2 separate regions of the Homo sapiens genome follow, and region 1 is linked to region 2. Evidence: promoter capture Hi-C in human tissues and cell types (Jung and others, 2019). All regions are on one chromosome and are shown on one strand. Each heading gives the region's core, a stretch centred on a gene start or on the middle of the fragment in contact. The rest is flanking DNA. Distances are from core to core; before and after follow the strand shown.

Region 1 (5,707 bases), core at 2,607-5,106, 120 kb after region 2:
TTGGGCTCCCCTGCCGGGGTCTGCTGGGGCAGCATGAGCCTGGAGCCCCCTGTGCCTGGTTCTCAGAGGTGGGAGTTGGCCCGGGCAGGGCCTGGCGGCTGACAGCCCCCCACCCCGCCTCTCCCCATTTGTTTCTTCCCATCGGAACTGGGCTTCCCCAGGAGACACCTTGCCCTGCTGGGTGCTGCTTCCTCTCCCCTGCAGAGAGGGGAAGCTGGGCCCCAGCGCTGCGGAACTGAGTGGCTCTCGGGGGCCCCTTCCCCCCTCACCCTGAGCAGGCGGCCGGCTTGGTGGGGTCTGCTCTGTGGGCTTCCTTGGCGGGGAGAAAGAGGTTAACTGGCTGGGGGGCCTGGGGCCACTGAGGCAGAAACCCCTCTTCCCCACTCCCCATCAGCCCCCAGGAGCCTTCACAGCTGAGTTTGGGAAGGAATTTGTTTAATTAACGTACAAAAGCGCCCTCCCCATCTCCTTGGTCCCTGAGGCCTGGCCATCAGGCCGGGGGGCGTCCGGGGGTGCCCGGCTCAGCAGCAGGCACGCAGGGCCTTGCGGAAGACGTTGCGGAACTCGGCGTTGAAGACAGTGTAGATGACGGGGTTGAGGGCGCTGTTGACGTAGCCCAGCCAGGTGACGGCGCTGACCAGCCGCGGGGGCACGGAGCAGGCAGGACACAGCGCCTGCGTGATGTGCACCACGAAGAAGGGCGTCCAGCACAGCAGGAAGGCCCCTGGGGGCGCCGAGAGCCGCGTTAGCGCCCCCCGCCCAGCCGGCCTCGTACCCCCCCCCTCCTCTCCTCCCCGCCCCTCAGGACAGGAACCCACCGACCACCACCGGCAGGACCCTCATGGCCTTGCGCTCCCGGCCGGTGATCTTGGCACGCCGCCTCCTGCGGGTCTGCGGTGGAGTCTGGGGTGGGAGCGCGGCGGCTCTGACGGCGTCGGGGGGAGCACAGTTGGAGCCGCAGGGGTCCGGGGGGAGGCCGGGCGCGGGGGGCGCACAGTCGGGGCCGCAGGGGTCCTGGGGGAGGCTGGGCGCGGCGGGCGCACAGTCGGGGCCGCAGGGACCCCGGGGAAGGCCGGGCGCGGGGGGCGCACAGTCGGGGCCGCAGGGGTCCTGGGGGAGGCGGGGCGCGGGTGGCGTGGGGGAAGGCGGGCCAGGGCCGCTGGGTCGGCGGGGCGCGCGGCCGTGCAGCTTGGCGCGACGTGCCACCTCCCAGCGCTGCAGGCCGCGGAACGTGGCCCAGTAGAGCAGCAGCATGAGCGGGCAGGGTAGGAAGAAGGAGCACACGGACGAGTAGACCACGTAGTCGCGGTCCTCCAGGCGGCACACGGCGGGGTCGCGGCCGCGCACGTCGTTGAGGCCGCACAGTACGGGCGCCGCCACCGCCGCGGACAGCAGCCACGTGGCGCCGATGAGCAGCAGCTGCCGGCGGCTCCCACCCTGCCGGTTGTAGCGCAGCGGCACGGCCACGGCCACGAACCTGCGGGGAGCGCCGAGGGGGCGCCGGACAGCGCACAGGCCGCGGTGAGGGCGGCGGGCGGGGCGCGGGGGCGCCGGGGCGCGGGCGGGGAGGGCGGCGCACCTGTCCACGCTGATGGCGCACAGGTTGAAGATGGAGGCGGTGCACAGCATGACGTCCATGGCCATGAGGGCGTCGCACAGGCGGGGGCTCAGCAGCCACGCGCCACCCTGGACCTGCGCGGCGACACCACAGGCCCTGAGGTTTCCCAGCCACCGCGGGCCCTTGTGACCCGCCCCCACTCTTATGGGTAGTTCCAGGGCTGAATACGGAGAAGGGGGCCCGGCTGTGAGCCAGAGGCCAGAGGACCGGGCAGGGAAACACCCCTTCCCCACGCAGATCTCCCTTTGTTTTGAGTTAGGGTCTCGCTGTGTCACCGCGGCTGGAGTGCTGTGGCTCCATCATGGCTCACTGTAGCCTGGAATTCCTGAGCTCAAGCGATCCTCCCACCTCAGTCTCCAGAGTAGCTGGGATTACAGCCGCGCGCCACCACCCCCGGCTGATTTGTTTTTCTTTTTGTTTTTTGAGACGGAGTTTCGCTCTTGTTGCCCAGGCTGGAGTGCAGTGGTGAGATCTCAACTCACTGCAACCTCCGCCTCCCAGGTTTAAGCGATTCTGCCGCCTCAGCTCCCCCGAATAGCTGGGACAACAGCCGCAGCCACCACCCCCGGCTGATATTTTAAAATTTTTTGTAGAGACCAGGCCTGGTATGTTTCCCAGGCTGGTCTCAAACTATCCTCCTGCCTTTGCCTCCCAAAGTCCTGGGATTACAGGCGTGAATCACGGCTTCTGGCCTTGGTCTCCCTTTTGTTACAAACATGAGAACGGCCTGGGGAATTCCCTGGGGGCGGGCCTGATATCATCGGGCTCAAAGGGAGCCCCTCCCCAGCCTGGGGTAGGCAGGGTCCCCGCTGGGCCTAGAAGCGAAGCTGGCTGCTCTGTTGGCTAAGTTCTCTGTGGGAGACTCGGGCACGTTAATTCATTTCTGTTTCTTCATCTGTAAGACAAGGGTGATGATAGTATCCACATCATAATTGTCTTGAAGATAAATTATAATTAAAAATATGAAGACCGTGCCCAGTGCCCAGCGTAGGACTCCACGTGGAGTGACTCTCTCCAAGGGCAAAGGAGCAGGCAGCCCCTCTAATCCTTCCCGCCGATTTGGGGAGATTAGGAGCTTAAACGTCGTCACTGTGACGTCTGCGGCTCGAAAGGAGCACAGGTCACGCGTGTCCCGTGCTGCTGGTCTCTGCCCCAGCCGCCTGGATTCACTGTGTCCATCAAGGGGAAACCTCGAGTCCCCCTCCCCCACAGTCGGGGACACCGCGTCTCCAGCTCAGCCCTAAGCTGCTTTTCTCTGGCCGCAGAGGGGCTGGCACCAAGGCCGACCCACTCGAGGGCCAGACCTGGTGTGGAGTGTGGGCTCCATCCCCCAATTCCCCCTCAGGCTTCCCCCCAGGGTTCTCAGCAGGGGCCTGGTCCCCACACACCCTCCCCTCCCCTGGGTTTTGTCCAGCCCAGGTCTCCCCTGCGAGCTGTGAGCCTCCTTCTGGGGGTGTGCCAGCATCTGCACTAGGTGTGTGTGGTGGGCAGTGGCTGTGGCAGTGTGTGTGTGTGTGTGTCCCACGGCAGCCAGGGGGCTGAGCCTGCATCTGCCTGTCTGTCCAGCTGGCTGCCCTGGAGGTGAAATCCAGCTACGGAGGGGACTGGGCTTGACAAAGTCGCCTGTTTCCGGGGTCCCTGGATAGAAGGACGGGCATCTCCTGGATAACAGACGCCAAGACAGACGGGGAAGGAGAAGAGGAACGAGGGTCGGGGGACAGACAGCGCAGCGGGTGGAAGGTCGCGAGGTGGCGGCGGTGGGTGTATCGCCGAGGGACAAGGCGCAGCGCCCCTGCCGCCGCCCCAGCTGGAAGCTCCGCACCAGAAAGGGGCCGGGTCGCGCCGGGTCCTCCGTAGGGACAGGGACGGGGAACCGAGGAGCAGGTGAGGATGCTCGTGCGGCCGGACGCGGCTCACCTCGGAGTAGACGAAGAGCGGCAGCACCAGGAGAGCGAGGAGGAGGTCGGCGGCCGCCAGGCTCACGATGAAGGAGTTGGTGGGCGTCTGCAGGGCGCGCTCGGTGGCCACGCTCACGCACACGAGCGAGTTCCCCGCGAGCACCGCGCCGATGAGCAGCACGCCCCCCACCAGCGCCGCCGCGCCCTGCCCAGCCAGCCCCGCAGATGCCCCCGCAGATGCCCCCGCGGCCGGCCCGCGCCCAGCCAGCAGCCCGTCCGCGTCCGCGGTGCTGCGGTTCCCCATGGCGCGCCCGGGCGGGCGCTGAGCACCGCGGACAACGCCGGGTCGCAAGCCGGGGAGTCCCTCCCCTCGGGCACGCCCCGGCCGGACCCTGGTCCCGCCCCCGACCCGCCCCGGCTCAGGGGGGCCCCCGCGGCGCTCCACCGTGAGCCCAGTATTTGCTCATCTTGGAATTTTGCGCAGGGAGAGACGGGCACGTGGACGAATGCGGCGGCCCAAAGAGACGGGAATGAAGCGAGGTGGTGGCCACGGGCAGGCCAGCATCGCCCGGCGCCGCGCGGGGTCCGCGACCCGAGAAACCGACAAGGATGGAGGGGCGGCCAGACCAGGCCCTGAAGCGCGCGGGCATCGACGCCAGCGCCATCCTACCCGGCCCGTGCGTGCGTCCCGGCCCTCGGGCGCTCACCCTAGTCCACCTGGTATCTGGCAAAACCTCCCTCCCAGGCCCGTTCCGCCAGACGCAGAAAGACCTGAGCTCAGGCTCTGCCCGCCTCCCCCGCGGACTCGCCTCGACCTCGTGCGCACCCTCCACGCCCGCTCCCCCTGCCCCCGACTCCGCGCCCGACTCAACCGCCGACGCCTAGCTCATCCCGCCGCCCCCCCCCCGCAGCCTCTGGCCCTCAGCCCCCGCGACCACCACGGTCAGCCGCGGCCCCACCCGTTGCACAGTTGATCCTCGCGTGGCCGCCTCCGAAACTGGGCGGACAGCTGAGCGGTCGACCCCGCTCCCTCCTCCATTCCCTCCGGCCCAAGACCGTGAGCTAGGTAGGCGCCCCTCTGACCCTGGGCAGGGGGTCCCGGGACCGGACAGTAGGTTCGGCTCGCGAGGAGGCCAGGAGAAAGACACGACAGGCCGGGGTAGGTTCCAAACGTGCAGAAGAGAAAGTGCTTGCAAAGCGCAGCAGAGAATTCTATGGACTCTTCACCAAAGAGGGGTGACCTGTGACCTGAGAGGTATTTTCTGTAGTCTGTCACTAAGGGGCCTAGAAGACACTAAAAGGGGGCACCACTCTGTGGGACCCCAGGCGGCGCACATCCTGATGCTCTAGTCTGTTTCTGGGAGGCCTGGAGTGGAGGGGCTGTGCCAGGAATTGAGGCCCCTGACCTCGAAGGTCTGGAGGACACGGGCTAGACGGAGGCGCTGACAGGGCGTGCGTTAAAGGGAGAAATGAGGACTCTGAGAAGGAGCAGGCACCGTGAGCCTCACAGGACAAGGTCACGGGGCTGCGGGGGAAGGGCCTGCACCAGGGACAGGTGTGCACAGGCATCAGGTGCGGCCGCAGCCAGGCTCAGTCCCTCTTGTGCAGATCAGTCTGCTGCCCTTGTGAACCCTTGAGCAAAAGAAGTCACCACAGGAGAGACCACCAGGGACAGGTGTGCACAGGCATCAGGTGCGGCCGCAGCCAGGCTCAGTCCCTCTTGTGCAGATCAGTCTGCTGCCCTTGTGAACCCTTGAGCAAAAGAAGTCACCACAGGAGAGACTGGGACAGTGGAAGTTTCTTCTCTCCCAGGATGGAACCGGGGAGGGTGGCCCTGGGGTCTCCGGCTGGGCGCCAAACGGCGAGTCCAGCCCAGCCTCTGGTCGGCTTAGAGTTCCTTCAAGTAGCCCCCAAGATGTCTGCGACCACCAAGAGTGAAAACCAAGCTAGGCGGAGAAAGGATGTGTGCAGCACACATCTCTGACACACAGATCCAGAAACAATGGAAACAATGAGAAAAGACAGACAACCCCAATTTGTTTTTTTTTTTTTTTTTTTTTTGAGATGGAGTTTCACTCTTATCACCCAGGCTGGAGTGCAGCAGCACAATCTTGGCTCACTGCAACCTCCGTCTCCCGGGTTCAAGCGATTCTCCTGCCTCAGCCTTCTGAGTAGCTGGGATTATAGGCGC
Region 2 (5,942 bases), core at 1,409-3,908:
CACAGGGCAGCGTGGCACGGCAGTGCTGGCCTTGCCCGAGCAGGAGCCACAGCTGGGCAGTGGGGCCTCACCCGCCTTGGCTGAGAGCACAGGCACCAGCTTGGCGTTGTCCTGCAGCAGCTCTCCCAGGAGCTTGGGTGAGATGGTGAGGAAGTCACAGCCGGCCAGTGCTTTGATCTCGCCCGTGTTGCGGAAGGAGGCGCCCATGACAATGGTTTTGTAGCTAAACTTCTTGTAGTAGTTGTAGATTTTAGTGACACTCTTTACCCCTGGAAAGAGACCAAGCTGTGACCAGGAAGGCTTCGGCAGAGGTACCACCCCACCTGCCCTCCCAGTGCCTGCCGGCTGCACTACCTTGAGCCGCCACCCCTGCCTGCCCCGCGCCGACCTGTGCACCTCACTGCTTGTTGATGCGGCAGCTCCGTCTCGGGCTCTTCCTGCCTGAGGTGCTGCTGAGGCTGCTCCCCTTACCCCATTACCACAGAGGGACCCTCACCAGGGTCTTCCAGGGGCTCATAGGATTTCTTGTCGGTGTTTGCCACATGCCAATCAAGGATGCGCCCAACAAATGGGGAGATGAGGGTCACACCCGCCTCGGCACAGGCCACAGCCTGGGCGAAGGAGAAGAGTAACGTCATGTTGCAGTGGATGCCGTGCTGCTCCTCGAGCTCCCTGCGGGGCGGGGACAGGTGAGGGCGGGGCAGGTGAGGGCGGGGACAGGTGAGGGCGGGGGCGGGTGAGGGCGGGGACGGTGAGGGCGGGGATGGGTGAGGGCGGGGGCGGGTGAGGGCGGGGGCAGGTGAGGGCGGGGCAGGTGAGGGCGGGGCAGGTGAATGCAGGCCAGGTGCCCACCCAGAGCCACAGGCTGCCAAAGACGCTCACGGGCCTTAAACTAAAAAGGCAGGAACAGGCTCATGCCATTGTTAAGAACAAATCGGTAAGACTCGAGGGCTCTAAGTGGATAGTGGGTTATGGGTGACCAGGATTTTCTCCAACCCACATGACACAATAGACAAAGGCAAGGGAGGCCCTCTGGGTGCCCGTGCTCTTGCGCCAGGCCGTCACCTCATCCCAGAACTCACCAGGGCTCAGCTCCCAGGCTAGAACCACTGAGTCATCTCTGACCACATTCCAGTCCTCACCCTGTTCCACCCTACCCATTCCTGGGGCCACCCTGCAGCAGGCCCGTAGCACCCTGGTTTCTGCTGAGAGGAGCCCCTTGGCCTCACTAGGCCACTTGCCCAAATCCCAGTGCACTTTGGACATCCTGGGGTTGATCCCCAAGGACGGAGCAGTGCCCATACTTTGCCATGTGGCTGGGGCATGGGATGAGACAGCCAAGGCTCTGCTCAGGCACCTTCAGACACAAGTTCCCTCCCCAGGCGCCTCTGCCACATGGCCACACGGGGGTGTTCGAGGGGGACAGCAGATGGCACAGCTGAGTTGGGAAACAGCCTGCAGTTCCTCCAGCAGTCACCCAGAGACTCCACTCCTAGGCATATGCCCACGAGAAACAAAAACACATGTCCAGGACAAAACTTGCACATCTGTGTTCAGAGCAGCAGATGTGTTCATAGCAGCAGATGTGTTCAGAGCAGCAGCATACATCACAGCCCGAGAAATGGAAACCGACCACAGCAATATACATCACAGCTCAAGAGATGGAAACTGACCAGGTGTCCACCAACAGATGAATAACTGTGGCCTATCCATAAAATGGAGTATTTTCCAACATATAAAAACAAATGGTCCGGCCAGGTGCAGTGGCTCAAACCTGTGATCCCAACACTTTGGGAGGCCGAGGCGGGCGGATCACCTGAGGCTGGGAGTTTGAGATCAGCCTGACTAACATGAGAAACCCCATCTCTACTAAAAATATAAAATTAGGCGGGAGTGGTGGCGCCTGCCTGTAATCCCAGCTACTCCGGAGGCTGAGGCAGGAGAATCTCTTGAACCCCAGAGGTGGAGGTTGCAGTGAGCTGAGATAGCACCATTGCACTCCAGCATGGACGAGAATGAAACTCCGTCTCAAAAACAAAAAAAAACAAAAAAACACACAAATGAGGCCAGGCACAATGGCTCATGCCTATAATCCCAGCACTTTGGGAGGCCAAGATGGGTAGAGATCTCTTGAGCCCAGGGGTTCGAGACCAGCCTGGGGAACGTGGTGAAATTACCCAGGAGTGGTATGTGTGCTTGTCATCCCAGCCACTTGGGGGACTGAGGTGGAAAGATAGCTTGAGCCTGGAGTCAAGGCTGCAGTGAGCCAAGTTCGTGCCACTGCACTCCAGCCGTGGTGAAAAAGTGAGATGCTATCTCAGAGCAGGTCAGTGATGGCAGGTGGTAGAACATGCAGACACACAGATGTGGAAACAAAACACCTCTTCCTGATGCGAATTATTTGAGTATAGCATTGGCTGCTTCTGGGTGAGAACATCATAGAGGAGTTTTACTTTGTTTTATACATTTTCTGTCTCTTCCACTCTGAACGTACATATGTTTGGTTTGGTTTTTCTGAGACAGGGTCTCACTCTGTCACCCAGGCTGGAGTGCAGTGGTACGATCATAGCTACTGGAACCTCAACTTCCCAGGCTCAAGCGATCCTCCCGCCTCAGCCTCCTAAGTAGCTGGAATCACAGGGGTGGGCTAGTTTTTCTTTTCTTTTTTTTTTTTTTTTTTGAGATGGAGTCTCATTCTGTCACCCAGGCTGGAGTACAATGGTGCAATCTCGGCTCACTGCAACGTCCACCTCCCAGGTTGAAGTGATTCTCCTGCTTCAGCCTCCCATGTAGCTAGGATTACAGGCACCTGCCACCACGCCCAGCTAAATTTTTTGTAGTTTTGGTAGAGACGGGGTTCCACTATCTTGGCCAGCCTGGTCTCGAACTCCTGACCTCAGGTGATCTACCCACCTCAGGCTTCCAGAGTGCTAGGATTACAGGTATGAGCCACCGTGCCCGGCCTAAAAGTTTTCTTTTCTTTTTGAGACAGAGTCTTGCTCTGTCACCCAGACTGGAGTGCAGTGGTGTGATCTCAGCTAACTGCAACCTTCGCCTCCTGGGTTCAAGCAATTCTCCTGCCTCAGCCTCCTAAATGGGACTACAGGTGTGTGCCACCATGCCCGGCTAATTTTTTATATTTTTTAGTGGAGTCGGGGTTTCACCGTGTTAGCCAGGATGGTCTCGATCTCCTGACCTCGTGATCCCCACGCCTCGGCCTCCCAAAGTGCTGGGAGCCACCGTGCCCAGCCTAAAATTTCTTTATATTTTTGTAGAGACAAGGTTTCACTTTGTTGCCCAGGCTGGTCTGGAACTCCTGGGCTCAAGTGATCCTCCCATCTCAGCCTCCCAAATTGCTGGGATTACAGGCATGAGCCATCTTGCCCAGCCAGCATATATTTTATATAACAATAGTTTACTTTTTAAAAATCATGTAAACATAGGCTTGTGTTGATCAGGACAGAGGAAGGACAGAATCTGAATCTGCAGGTGCTAACTAGTGGCTTTTCTTCTCTGCTGAGTGGGTGGATGGTACTTCCTGGGAAATCCCTCATTTCTGATCACCAGCAAGTGAGGGAGCTGGCTCTGGAGCAGAGGGCAGATCTAGGCTGACATGAGCTGGTCAAGTCCAAGCTGTGGGCTGTGCTCCCCAGTCTGGCATTCCCCAGGGCTGAGAGAGTCAAACTTGCCTGATGCCATGTAGACCCTGCTCCAACAGAGGAAAAATCTCTGAGAGCTCCTTCCTTGTGGGGGACCACTTACTTTCCAGCCTGAATTCCTTCCCAGGTTGATGACAGCTTTATAAGAATTCGGTCCTTGCTGATCCCAGCTTCCTTGTAGAGCTCGATGAGCCGCCTGGCTCTGGCCACCATCGCATCTTTATCAAAGGAGAGCCTGTAGGAGCAAGAAGAACCCATCCCCTCAGATCACGCAGGTTGCCCACCACGCAGAGCAAGCTGGAGGCCGGGTGTCTGCCTGTCAGTTTTGAGCAGCACCACCGTGAGCACCAACCACTGCCCTCAACCTTCCCCTCACTGGAGGTTTGCAGAATGGCTCTGACAGCAACTCACACCCAGTCTCACAAACAGAGGTCCTCAGTGGGATCCATAGGCTATAATTTGTATTAAAAAACACTGGGCCAGGTGCCGTGGCTCACGCCTGTAATCCCAACACTTTGGGAGGCTGAGGCGGGAAGATCACAAGGTCAAGGGATCGAGACCATCCTGGCCAACATGGTGAAACCCTGTCGCTACTAAAAATACAAAAAAATTAGCTGGGTATGGTGGCGGGTGTCTGTAGTCCCAGCTACTTGGGAGGCTGAGGCAGGAGAATCGCTTGAACCCGGGAGGTGAAGGTTGCAGTGAGCTGAGATCACACCACTGCACTCTACACTGGCAACAGAGCGAGACTCTGTCTCAAAAAACAAACAAAACAAATCAAAACAAAAAACACTAGCAGCCGGGCACAGTGGCTCATGCCTGTGATCCCAGCACTTTGGGAGGCCGAGGCAGGTGGATCATGACGTCAGGAGTTCAAGACCAGCCTGGCCAAAATGGTCAAACCCCATCTCTATTAAAAATACAACAAATTAGCTGGGCATGGTGGCAGGTGCCTGTAATCTCAGCTACTTGGGAGGCTGAGGCAGAGAAACGCTTCAAGCCGGGAGACAGAGGTTGCAGTGAGCTGAGATTGCGCCACTGTACTCCAGCCTGGGTGACAGTGCGAGACTCCATCTCAAAAATAAATAAAAATAAAAATAAAAAACACTAGAGATCAGTTGCTAAACAAGGAGCTCTTGGTCATCACTACCAACTGTGGGAGAGCTCAAAATAAACCTCCTCTTGGGCCCTTGGGATGAAGACCATGGGTGGAGCAGCCCCTTGACCTCATGTTGGCATCCACGTGTGCAACTGTGGACACCTGACCAGCCCATCCAGTGCAGGAGCAAGCATCCTTACCTTGCGTCTACTTCTGTGGATACTCGGCCCGGAATCTTCTTTAGTATTTCTGCTCCAAACAACACAAAAAGTTTATCAATAGCATTTTTAATCTGGTCCTCTTGTGACCTGAAATTCAAAGGGAAAAAAAGCAGGTTAGAAGCTTCTGAGGTTCGCCAGGTGCGGTGGCTCACGCCTGTAATCCCAGCACTTTGGGAGGCCGAGGTGGGCGGATCATGAGGTCAGGAGATCAAGACCATCCTGGCTAACACGGTGAAACCCCGTCTCCACTAAAAATATTAAAAAATTAGCTGGGCATGGTGGCGGGTGCCTGTAGTCCTAGTTACTAGGGAGGCTGAGGCAGGAGAATGACGTGAACCTGGGAGGTGGAGCTTGCAGTGAGCAGAGATCGTGCCACTGCACTCCAGCCTGAGCGACAGAGCGAGACTCCATCTCAAGAAAAAAAAAAAGAAGCTTCTGAGGTTCAAGTGCACAAGACTCTACAAAATAAATTCTGTTATTTCTTTGCCAAATTTCCTTCCCTCCATCTTTTTTTTTCTCTTAAAACATTTTTTTATTGTGGCCAAATAATACATATAACATAAAATTTCCCATCTTATCCTTTTTTTTTTCCCCCAAGACAGGGTCTCCAGCTAAGGCTGGAAGCACAGTAGTGTGATTATGGCTCATTACAGCCTTGACCTCCCGGGCTCAAGTGATCCTCCTGCCTCAGCCTCCCAAGTAGCTGGGACTACAGCTGCACACCTCTATACCTGGCTAATTTTTTTGTTTTGTTGAGATGGAGTGTCACTCTGTCGCCCAGGCTGGAGTGCAGTGGCACAATCTCGGCTCTGCCAGCTCTGCCCCCCGCGGTTCACGCCATTCTCCTGCCTCAACCTCCTGAGTAGCTGGGACTACAGGCGCCCGCCACTGTGCCCGGCTAATTTTTTTGTATTTTTGGTGGAGACGGGGTTTCACCGTGTTAGCCAGGATGGTCTCGATCTC

What was found. Contacts are between HindIII fragments. The study calls those that stand out against the background at their distance.
Region 1: the fragment with the promoter of DRD4 here is called in contact with a fragment that was not itself captured in region 2 in 4 of the 25 tissues and cell types used here (H1 embryonic stem cells, dorsolateral prefrontal cortex, mesenchymal stem cells and 1 more).

Annotation. Positions count from the first base shown.
Region 1 is chr11:635,418-641,124 of GRCh38, reverse strand. DRD4 (dopamine receptor D4) reads right to left here and starts at 3,856. Exons shown (of 4, transcript NM_000797.4): 1 at 3,536-3,856; 2 at 1,580-1,692; 3 at 819-1,477; 4 at 419-724. The coding sequence starts at 3,820. The coding sequence ends at 522. RefSeq lists enhancers at 2,367-2,900, 2,901-3,435, 3,436-3,969, 4,505-5,038, 5,039-5,574 and 4 more. The HindIII fragment of the contact is 8,949 bases long and covers 3,789-5,707 here.
Region 2 is chr11:758,074-764,015 of GRCh38, reverse strand. TALDO1 (transaldolase 1) reads right to left here. Exons shown (of 8, transcript NM_006755.2): 3 at 4,959-5,066; 4 at 3,763-3,894; 5 at 497-672; 6 at 72-269. Among named protein-coding and RNA genes, the nearest start is that of TALDO1, 14 kb to the right of the region's middle. RefSeq lists an enhancer at 229-1,428. The HindIII fragment of the contact is 7,127 bases long and covers 1-5,942 here.